2 separate regions of the Homo sapiens genome follow, and region 1 is linked to region 2. Evidence: promoter capture Hi-C in 16 types of primary human blood cells and fetal thymus (Javierre and others, 2016). All regions are on one chromosome and are shown on one strand. Each heading gives the region's core, a stretch centred on a gene start or on the middle of the fragment in contact. The rest is flanking DNA. Distances are from core to core; before and after follow the strand shown.

Region 1 (4,694 bases), core at 709-3,208, 630 kb after region 2:
TCATAACCACTCATTATGCTGTGGGCAAATGTCAGTGTGTTTCTCCTCACAGGCTCTCTCCCCAGAGACCCCTTCCCTGATCATCTGTTTAAGATTAACCCTTTCGACCGGGTGTGGTGGCTCATGCCTGTAATCCCAGCACTTTAGGGGGCCAAAGCGGGAAGGATCACTTGAGGTCAGGAGTTTGAGACCAGCCTGGCCAACATGGTGAAACCCCATCTCTACTAAAAACACAAAAATTAGCTGGGTGTGGTGGCAGGCGCCTATAATCCCAGCTACTCAGGAGGCTGAGGCAGGAGAATCGCTTGAACCCAGGAGGCAGAGGTTGCAGTGAGCCCGAGATCGGGCCACTGCACTTTAGCCTGGGTGACAGAGCTAGTGGGACTCCTCCTCTGTCTCAAAACAAACAAACAAACAAAGATTAACCCTTTCATCACTCTCTATTCCCAGATTAATTTTGCTTCACAGGATTTACCACCACCTGATTTTTTTCTGTTTCACTTGTTTATCGTCTGTCTCTTCACTAAAATGTAAACTTCCCAAGTAGAGGGATTTAGTTTTGTTTATTCCGTGTACCTAGAGCAGTTCCTGGCACATAGCAGACACCCAATAAGTATTTGTTAAATGAATACTGTGGAATGAGTTTTTTACACATGAAATTCTCAGCTAATCAAACAAAATAGCTATGTGGAGACTGCTCAAGAAGCAATGCTGCCAGGAGCGGTGGCTCACGCCTGTAATCCCAGCACTTTGGAAGGCTGATGCAGGCAGATCATGAGGTCAAGAGTTCGAGACCAGCCTGGCCAACATGGTGAAACCTCATCTCTACTAAGAATACAAAAATAGCCAGGTGTGGTGGTGCGTGCCTGTAATCCCAGCTACTCAGGAGGCTGAGGCGGGAGAATCACTTGAACCCAGGAGGCGGAAGTTGCAGTGAGCCAAGATCACACCACTACACTCCAGCCTGGCGACAGAGCTAGACTCCGTCTCAAAAAAAAAAAAAAAAAAGGAAAAGTACTTCCTTCAATTAGTCATTCTAAAGACTTCATGAATTAAACTCCATAAAAGACAACAGTGTCTAGCATATATAAAATGCTAAATAAATGTACGTTTATTATGATGAATATGTTGAATATTTACAGGTGGTTAACTATAAACACCTCTAGTTGAAAATATATATAATATATATTACATATATTATATATAATATATATGTATATTATATATGTAATATATACATACACATTATATATAATATATACGTATATATATTATATAATACGTAATATATAATACTTATATATATAATTCGCCTCCCAGGTTCAAGCAATTCTCCTGCCTCAGCCTCCCAAGTAACTGGGATTACAGGCATGTGCCACCACGCTCGGCTATATATTTTTTTAATTATTATTTTTTAGTAGAGACGGGGGTTTCTCCATGATTGTCAGGCTAGTTTCGAACTCCCGACCTCAGGTGATCCGCCCGCCTCGGCCTCCCAAAGAGCTGTTTTAAAGCACAGGTTCCCATGGCATCGCTTCTTCCCCCAACCCTCACACACTGTCCCTAACCAAAGAGACTGCACACCCCAGAATGCAACACGCGCCTCCGCGAAGAAGACCTACTCATAGCAAGTACTTCACAGCCTACAATTCCCAAGATGCAACGCGACCTCCTTCCCACAGCAACGAAAGACTGCGACTCCCCGGACTATCAGGCCGGGAGAGTCCACTTCCAGCTCACCTCGGAGCTCCGGGAGCCTTTCAGCACCTGCTTGGTGAGCGCGATTACGTCAGTACCACAGGTGGTCACCTTCTCCGTGAGAAGCCCCTTCACGGACTGACCGAACCGCGCTTGAGACTCTGGCGTTCCAGTCGCCATCATTTCAGTTAGCGAACGGTTGCGCACTGACGATGGTGAGTCGCCGGGGCCAAAAGACAAGCAAAGCGGAAGGAAAAGAGGCGTCTCTTCCTCCATGGGAAAAGGAAGGGACGCATGCGCCTGATGGAGGTTGACCTTTGCTCACTAAACTCATGAACTATTCATTGATATCCTGAGGAAAACAGGGTCCAGGCAAACATCTCTGGAGGGGATGGAGGACAGTTTCATTGACTCTATGGTTCAGAATCGGAAAGCCTGCGGCAGGGCATGGCGGCGCACGCCTGAAATCCCAGCCCTTTGGGAGACCCAGGCAGGAGGATCACCTGAGCCTGAGAGTTCCAGACCACCCTGGGCAACATAGCGAAACTCCATCTCTTTAAAAATAAAATAAAATTAAAATTAATACAAATAATTAAAAAGAATCAGAAGGCCCGGATTACAGTCCCAATGCTACCATTTAGCAGTGTGTGGCTGCAAATTACTCAGCTTCTGTCTTATATTCCTCATCTGTTAAACAGAAGTAATAATGTTTCCAAGGGGTTATGAGAATATCATTCCATTCATATATATATACACATATATATATATACACATATATATACACATATATACACATATATACATATATATACATATATATACACATATATATATACATATATATTTTTTTTTCCCCAGAGTCTTGTTCTGTTGCCTAGGCCTTTTTTTGATTAATTGAGACAAGGGGCCAGGCGTGGTGGCTCACGCCTGTAATCCCAACACTTTGAAAGGCCAAGGTGGATCACTTGAGGTCAGGAGTTCAAGGCCAACCTATCCATATGGTGACACACCTGTAGTCCCAGCACTTTGGGAGGCCGAGGCAGAAGGGTCACTCAAGGCCAGGAGTTCAGTATCAGCAGCCTGGGCAACATAGCGATAACTTGTCTCATTTTATTTAATTTTATTTTATTTTATTTTTTTTTTGAGATGGAGTCTCGCTTTGTTGCCCAGGCTGGAGTGCAGTGGCTCGATCTCAGCTCACTGCAACATCCGCCTCCTGAGTTCAAGTGATTCTCCTGCCTCAGCCTCCCAAGTAGCTGGGATTACAGGTGCTTGCCACCAGGCCCGGCTAATTTTTGTATTTTTAGTAGAGATAGGGTTTCACCATGTTGGCCAGGCTGGTCTCAAATTCCTGACATCTAATGATCCACCAGCCTTGGCCTTCCAAAATGGTGGGATTACAGGCGTGAGCCACTGCACCTGGCCTCATTCCATTCAATTTTAACAAACATTTCATGAACTAAATACCAGACACTGTACTAGGCTGGGGATAGAGAAAGAAATGAAATACAGTTCTTGTCTCTGTGGAACTCCCAGGCTGATGAGGCAGATAGGCCTGTAAACAAATGAAGAAGGAAAAACAATCTAATAGAAAAATTGGCAAAAGGCACAAGTAGGCAATTCAAAAAAAAAAATCAACTGGCTGATAAATGTGAAAAATGCTCAACATCACTAGTAATTTTTATTGATAACCTCTTTATTGTATTAATACCAAACTGATGGTAACCACCTTGTAAGTGAATTAATATGTAAAATATTTCAAGTAGGCCAGGTGCCGTGGCTCACGCCTGTAATCCCAGCACTTTGGGAAGTTGAGGCGGGAGGATCACCTGAGGTCAGGAGTTCGAGACCAGCCTGCCCAACATGGTGGAACCCCGTCTCTACTAAAAATACAAAAATTAGCCGGGCGTGGTGGTGGGCACCTGTAGTCCCAGCTACTCTGGAGGCTGAGGCAGGAGAATTTCTTGAACCCGGGAGGCAGAGGTTGCAGTGAGCCGAGATCATGCCACTGTATTCCAGCCTAGGCGACAGAGTGAGACTCTGTCTCAAAAAAAAAATAAAATATTTCAAGTAGCTCCATTTCTTTTTTAGTTAATAAAAGATGTGAGAATGTTATTGTATTGAAAATTTTGTTCAAAATTACCTGTATTCAATATCAACATTACTTCCTCTTCCAAGTGTCTAGATTCATATGTCTCCGTTGAATCTCATTTACTGTTTACTTTTTGTCCTTAATAAACTTTATTGAGTTTATGTGCATGAATTTATGTTATAATTTATGTACAATAACAACATTATTTTTTGAGATGGAGTCTTGCTTTGTCACCCAGGCTGGAGTGCAGTGGCACGATCTTGGCTCACTGCAACCTTTGCCTCCCTGGTTCAAGCGATTCTCCTGCCTCAGCCTCCCGAGTAGCTGGGATTACAGGTGCCCACTATCACGCCTGGCTAATTTTTGTATTTTTAGTAGAGATGGGTTTCACCATGTTGGCTAGGCTGGTCTTGAACTCCTGACCTCAGGTGATCCACCTGCCTTGGCCTCCCAAAGTGCTGGGATTACAGGCGTTGAGCCACCACGCCCGGCCTGCACAATAACCACATTCTTTAAAGTGTACGATTTGATGAGTGTGACAGACGTATACATCTGTGAACCACCACCACTATTAAGATACAGAACAGGGTGGGAGCAGTAGCTCATGCCTGTATTCCCAGCACTTTGGGAGGCCGAGGCAGAAAGATTGCTTGAGGCCAGGAGTTCAATATCAGCAGCCTGGGCAACATAGCGATAACTTGTCTCATTTTATTTATTTATTTTTATTATTTATTTACTTTATTTTGAGACGGAGTCTTGCCCTGTCACCCAGGCTGGAGTACACGGGTGTGATCTTGGCTCACTGCAACCTCCGCCTCCCGGGTTCAAGCGATTCTCCTGCCTCAGCCTCCCAAGTAGCTGGGACTACAGGTACGCACCATCGCGCCCGGCTAATTTTTGTATT
Region 2 (4,887 bases), core at 367-2,866:
GGGGTGCTCATGACCCTCCCAGCCCAGTTAGCTCCCCGCCTGCTCCACACCAGCCCTGCTGGTTCAGGGTCACGAAGCCTGGCCTTGGGCCAGGACAGTCCCCTTTTCTGGTCAGCAGCCCAGTGGGTGACTAAGGCTGAAAGGCACAGATGGAGGATCCCAGCTTCCTCCCTGGCTCTGTCCCCGCCAGGGTATGTGACCTCCAACAGCCCCTCTGGGACTGTACCCACCTGAAGTTGTGGTGGTCCTCCTGGCTTGAAGGGTTTCTCACCCCTGCCCCGCCCTCTCCTCCGCTCAGAGTCAGACTCACAGGGCCACTGGTGGCTCTCCCCATCTTCTCCAGTGCCTCATTTCCCTCACACAGGGAAATCTGTCTCATAGGACCTAGAGTAACGTACAAATATGGAAAATAAAAATACTAAGTGGCCAGGCTCAGTGGCTCATGCCTGTAATCCCAGCACTTTGGAAGGCCAAGGGGGCCAAATCACCTGAGGTCAGGAGTTCGAGACCGGCCTGACCAACATGGCAAAACCCCTGTCTCTACTAAAAATACAAAAATTAGCTGGGCGTGGTGGTGGGTGCCTGTAATCCCAGCTACTTGGAAGCTGAGGCAGGAGAATCACTTGAACCCGGGAGGCAGAGGCTGCAGTGAACCAAGATCGTGCCACTGCACTCCAGCCTGGGTGACAGAACAAGACTCTATCTCATAATAATAATAATAATAAGTAAGACCCAGGTTTCTGTCTGTCTTCATCAGAAGTACAGACCACACAGATGGTTACGAAATTTGCAAGACTTATTTGGGATGATCTGACTTACAATATGGGCCAAGTGACCTTTACAAAATTCGTTTTGCAGGTTTCAGGGGTCCCTCAAACATCTGGGCTGTCATCCTTCGGAGAGACTGGAACTGAGACACAAGGAGAGACCTAGTGATGTGGGAGAGTTAGGAGAAGAAGCAGTGATTTCAAACGCATGCCCCTCACACGGAAGAAGGGCAGGGGGAAAGCCATGCAGGTGTGGGCGTGGCACTTGAGCAGCCTCTCCCATGGGCACCCAGTGGTTAATGCACAATGTTTAGCACGTCGCCCAGGGAGGCCATCCCCTTCCGCTACCCCTTTCATGGCAAATGCTGAAACATCGTTGAAGACTCCTCTCAAGGGTCTCCTCTTCCAGGAAGCCTTCGGTCAGGAATAGGTGCCCCTTCTGGCTCCTCCTAGCCTGAAAGCCAACATGAAATCTCCCTGGGCTGAGCTGAGTCGTCATATTTTGTTGTTGTTGTTGCTGTTGTTTTACTATGCCTGTGAGACAAGTTCAGAGTCATGCTTTTGATCAAGACCAGAAAATATACTACCTTGGCTCCATCAGCATCTTTTCCTCACCACACCCAGAATTTGCCTGTCCCCCGAAGGAAGCTCCAACGGCTGTCAAGCCTGAGCATCCAGACCGTAAAGCAAAGAGAAATGGGCCGGGAGGAATGGAGTGACAGGGCGGGGCCCATTTGCCTAGAGGTGCTTTGGGCTGCCCGGTCACAGAGGGTGACTCACTCCCCCAGACAGGAGGGGAGTGGCACCAGGGGACCATTGGGCTGGGCAGGGGAGCCTTTGTGGTGAGAGCCTGTCCCTGCCTTAAGTGCCTACTGGATCCCGGGAGCCTGGGCTGGGGCCTGGGCACTGCTTCCTCCTTGGCCCCTCAGGCCCTTGGAAGCAGAGAGAGAACCTCTTGCAGATCCCAGGCTCGTCCCCAGCACAGCAGACACCAGGAAGGTGGCCAGAGCCTCACTGAGCCGAACCGACGGCCGCCCACCCACCCAGGCTGGAGCCATGGATAAATTCCGCATGCTCTTCCAGCACTTCCAGTCAAGCTCGGAGTCGGTGATGAATGGCATCTGCCTGCTGCTGGCTGCGGTCACCGTCAAGCTGTACTCCTCCTTTGACTTCAACTGTCCCTGCCTGGTGCACTACAATGCACTCTACGGCCTGGGCCTGCTGCTGACGCCCCCGCTCGCCCTGTTTCTCTGCGGCCTCCTCGCCAACCGGCAGTCTGTGGTGATGGTCGAGGAGTGGCGCCGGCCCGCAGGGCACCGGAGGAAGGACCCAGGCATCATCAGGTGCGGTCCCACACCACTCAGTGACCCATGAGCTTTGCCAGGGGCTCCCCAGCCACCCCACAGGCACTGTCAAGTGCACCCCCAGACCCCAACCATTCTCATTATCAGGGGATTCTCCACCCACCCTACAGGTACTGCCAGGTGCGCCCTCTCCTTTCCCCAACTAGGAATTATCGGCTCACAGAGAGCCACTTGCCAGTTTCCACTCTGGAAACATATTTCTGTTCCTATCGTTTGTCACCTTTCCGTGGCCAGTGCTGTAAACATAGGAATGACACAGGATTCCCAATTACCCAGGCCACTCTAGGGGCTGCGGGAAAACTTCCTCTTTGCCCTCTGAAGCTCTGCTGAAAATCAACTGACAAAAGGCAGATTAATAAGAGAAAAGGCATACAAATTTATTTGATTACCGTTTTATGTGCCACAGAACCTTCAGAATAAAGACCTAAAGATACAGAGGAAATGGTTCATTTTTATGCTTAGGTTCAACAAGGTTTGGATAGCCACGCAGAAATAGAATTGGATTAAAAAAGGGATGAACTGATGTTATAGACGGAGTGGGGAAACTCAGCAAGGCCATCTAGGTTCTTCTTGGCCTCTCTATACAGTGTTCCTTTCTCCCAGACACGGGGCAGGACCCTCTCTAGAAGGGAGTCTTATGATCTACAATGAAACTAGGTAGGTCAGATCATTTCTTTACGGCCAGTTTTCAGACAGAAAGGCGGGGGGAAATTAGAATCATATTTTTAGGTTTTATGGTGGCAGCTTTGGAGAAAAGGAGTTCTGGTTTCTATGACCCACCTTGGGGAAGATGGATTCTAGTTTCTATGGCTAGCCTTGGGGGAAAATAAGGAGCCAGAGATTGGGTGGGGGGGCCAGGCGCGGTGGCTCTCACCCGTAATCCCAGCACTTTGGGAGGTCGAGGCGAGTGGATCACCTGAGGTCAGGAGTTCGAGACCACTCTGGCCAACATGGCAAAACCCCCATCTCTACTAAAAAATATAAAAAATTAGCTGGGCGTGGTGTTGGGCACCTGTGGTCCCAGCTACTCAGGAGGCTGAGGAAGGAGAATCGCTTGAACCTGGGAGGCAGAGGTTGCAGTGAGCTGAAATCGTGCCACTGCACTCCAGCCTGTGCGACAGAGCAAGACTCAAAAAAGACAAAAAAAGAAAAGAAAATGCTAAAGCCACCACTGCCTAGAACATATTTACAGCTCACACTGGGTAGGCCATGCACGCACACACCTGGCACACACCATTGGATGTTTTGTGTACAATCCAATTCAGAAACAACATCTGCATCCGGTGCACCCTCAGCCTCTGTTCCATGTTCTCAGGGATCACATCTCCCTGCAATTCAGCTGTGCAGGGTGGGTCACAGGCACTGGGTGTGTCCTTGGCCTTTTCCTCTGGGGTCCAGTGGGCACAGCTCCACTGGGCTCCTGTCCTGTGGCCAATACCCAGTCGAGGTCACTACAGGCAGGGGCAGAGTTGATCTGGAAAGGCGCCTGAGGCCGGTCAGAGGGTGGGCTCCTGGGATGCCTTGTGGGTAGGGGTGTTAGAGGTGCTGCTTTTGGAGGGTTACTGGGCAGGGCTGTCTTAGCTTAGGCTCTCCTCCAAAAGCAGGCTCTGAAAGAATGTGATAATGAGTGGGCAACTGGGGCTTAATCCTTCAGGGGACCCCCTAAGGGCATGCATAGAACACATCTCAGAATTTTCCCACTGAGGATTTAAGAAGCTGGGATATTTATCCACAAGGCCCCATCCCTCTGGGGTTGAAGGTTGATTTGGGGGTTAACTTTTCAGTGCTTCCAGCCTACCCCTCTCTGGAGCAAAAAATCCTCCAAAGCCCCAGGGGCAGAACAATGCAGATGCTTGAGGTAGGAGGCCCTCAGGCCCTCCAGGTGAATAGAACCAGCCACTGCACCCACAGATGCCTCTGGCATGGGCAGGGCACCAGCAGTGTCTGCTGTAAGGCCTAGGGCAAGAGGAATACCAAGTCCTCAGTGCTCCAGTCCTGGGGATCCCAGGGGCCCCTGCCCTCCTTTCTGCCTGTCTCTGTCACTGGGACCTCTACACTGGGAGCTGCAGTCTGATGTAACCCAGCCTGGGACTTCCCAGCAGTCCATCCTTGCACCTCCCCTGCTGCAGCTGACTTCCAGCTGCCCCTTGACCCCCCTCCTTCCTCTGCTGCCAGGTACATGTGCTCCTCTGTGCTGCAGAGGGCGCTGGCCGCCCCCCTGGTCTGGATCCTGCTGGCCCTCCTTGACGGGAAGTGCTTCGTGTGTGCCTTCAGCAGCTCTGTGGACCCTGAGAAGTTTCTGGACTTTGCCAACATGACCCCCAGCCAGGTACAGCTCTTCCTGGCCAAGGTTCCCTGCAAGGAGGATGAGCTGGTCAGGGATAGCCCTGCTCGGAAGGCAGTGTCTCGCTACCTGCGGTGCCTGTCACAGGTAACTGGGGTGATCCTCCCCCGGCCCTTGCACCCTCACAAATCCCCCGCATTGGTTCTGGAGTGGGGTGAGGGGGTGGTGAGGAGGGACAGATGATGGGCTCAGCCCATTCCCAGGAGGCAGGGAAGTGCTGGAGACCACTGCTCTGCCTTGCCTGCGCCCACTGCACACCTTCTTCCCACCCGTGAGAAATAATACTAATCTCCACTTATTGAGCATTTATGTGCCAGGCACTGCAGTGAGCATTTTATATGTATTATTTCATTTACTTTGTGGAACAACCATTATCATCCCATTCTCCAGGTGAGGAAGCAGGCTCTGAGAG

What was found. The method cuts DNA at HindIII sites, captures the fragments that hold promoters and counts their contacts. A CHiCAGO score of 5 or more calls a contact.
Region 1: a contact is called between the fragment with the promoter of BORCS7-ASMT here and the fragment with the promoter of CALHM3 in region 2, in 1 of 17 cell types (neutrophils). The highest score is 7.4, in neutrophils.

Annotation. Positions count from the first base shown.
Region 1 is chr10:102,851,474-102,856,167 of GRCh38, reverse strand. BORCS7-ASMT (BORCS7-ASMT readthrough (NMD candidate)) reads right to left here and starts at 1,958. Exons shown (of 15, transcript NR_037644.1): 1 at 1,741-1,958. BORCS7 (BLOC-1 related complex subunit 7) reads right to left here and starts at 1,909. Exons shown (of 5, transcript NM_001136200.2): 1 at 1,741-1,909. The coding sequence starts at 1,881. RefSeq lists enhancers at 1-566, 1,574-1,763, 1,363-1,875, 1,834-1,893, 1,876-2,389. The HindIII fragment of the contact is 18,616 bases long and covers 1-4,694 here.
Region 2 is chr10:103,475,969-103,480,855 of GRCh38, reverse strand. CALHM3 (calcium homeostasis modulator 3) reads left to right here and starts at 1,616. Exons shown (of 3, transcript NM_001129742.2): 1 at 1,616-2,110; 2 at 4,307-4,562. The coding sequence starts at 1,824. NEURL1-AS1 (NEURL1 antisense RNA 1) reads left to right here. Exons shown (of 4, transcript NR_120675.1): 4 at 859-1,253. RefSeq lists enhancers at 3,058-3,952, 3,953-4,847. The HindIII fragment of the contact is 14,732 bases long and covers 1-4,887 here.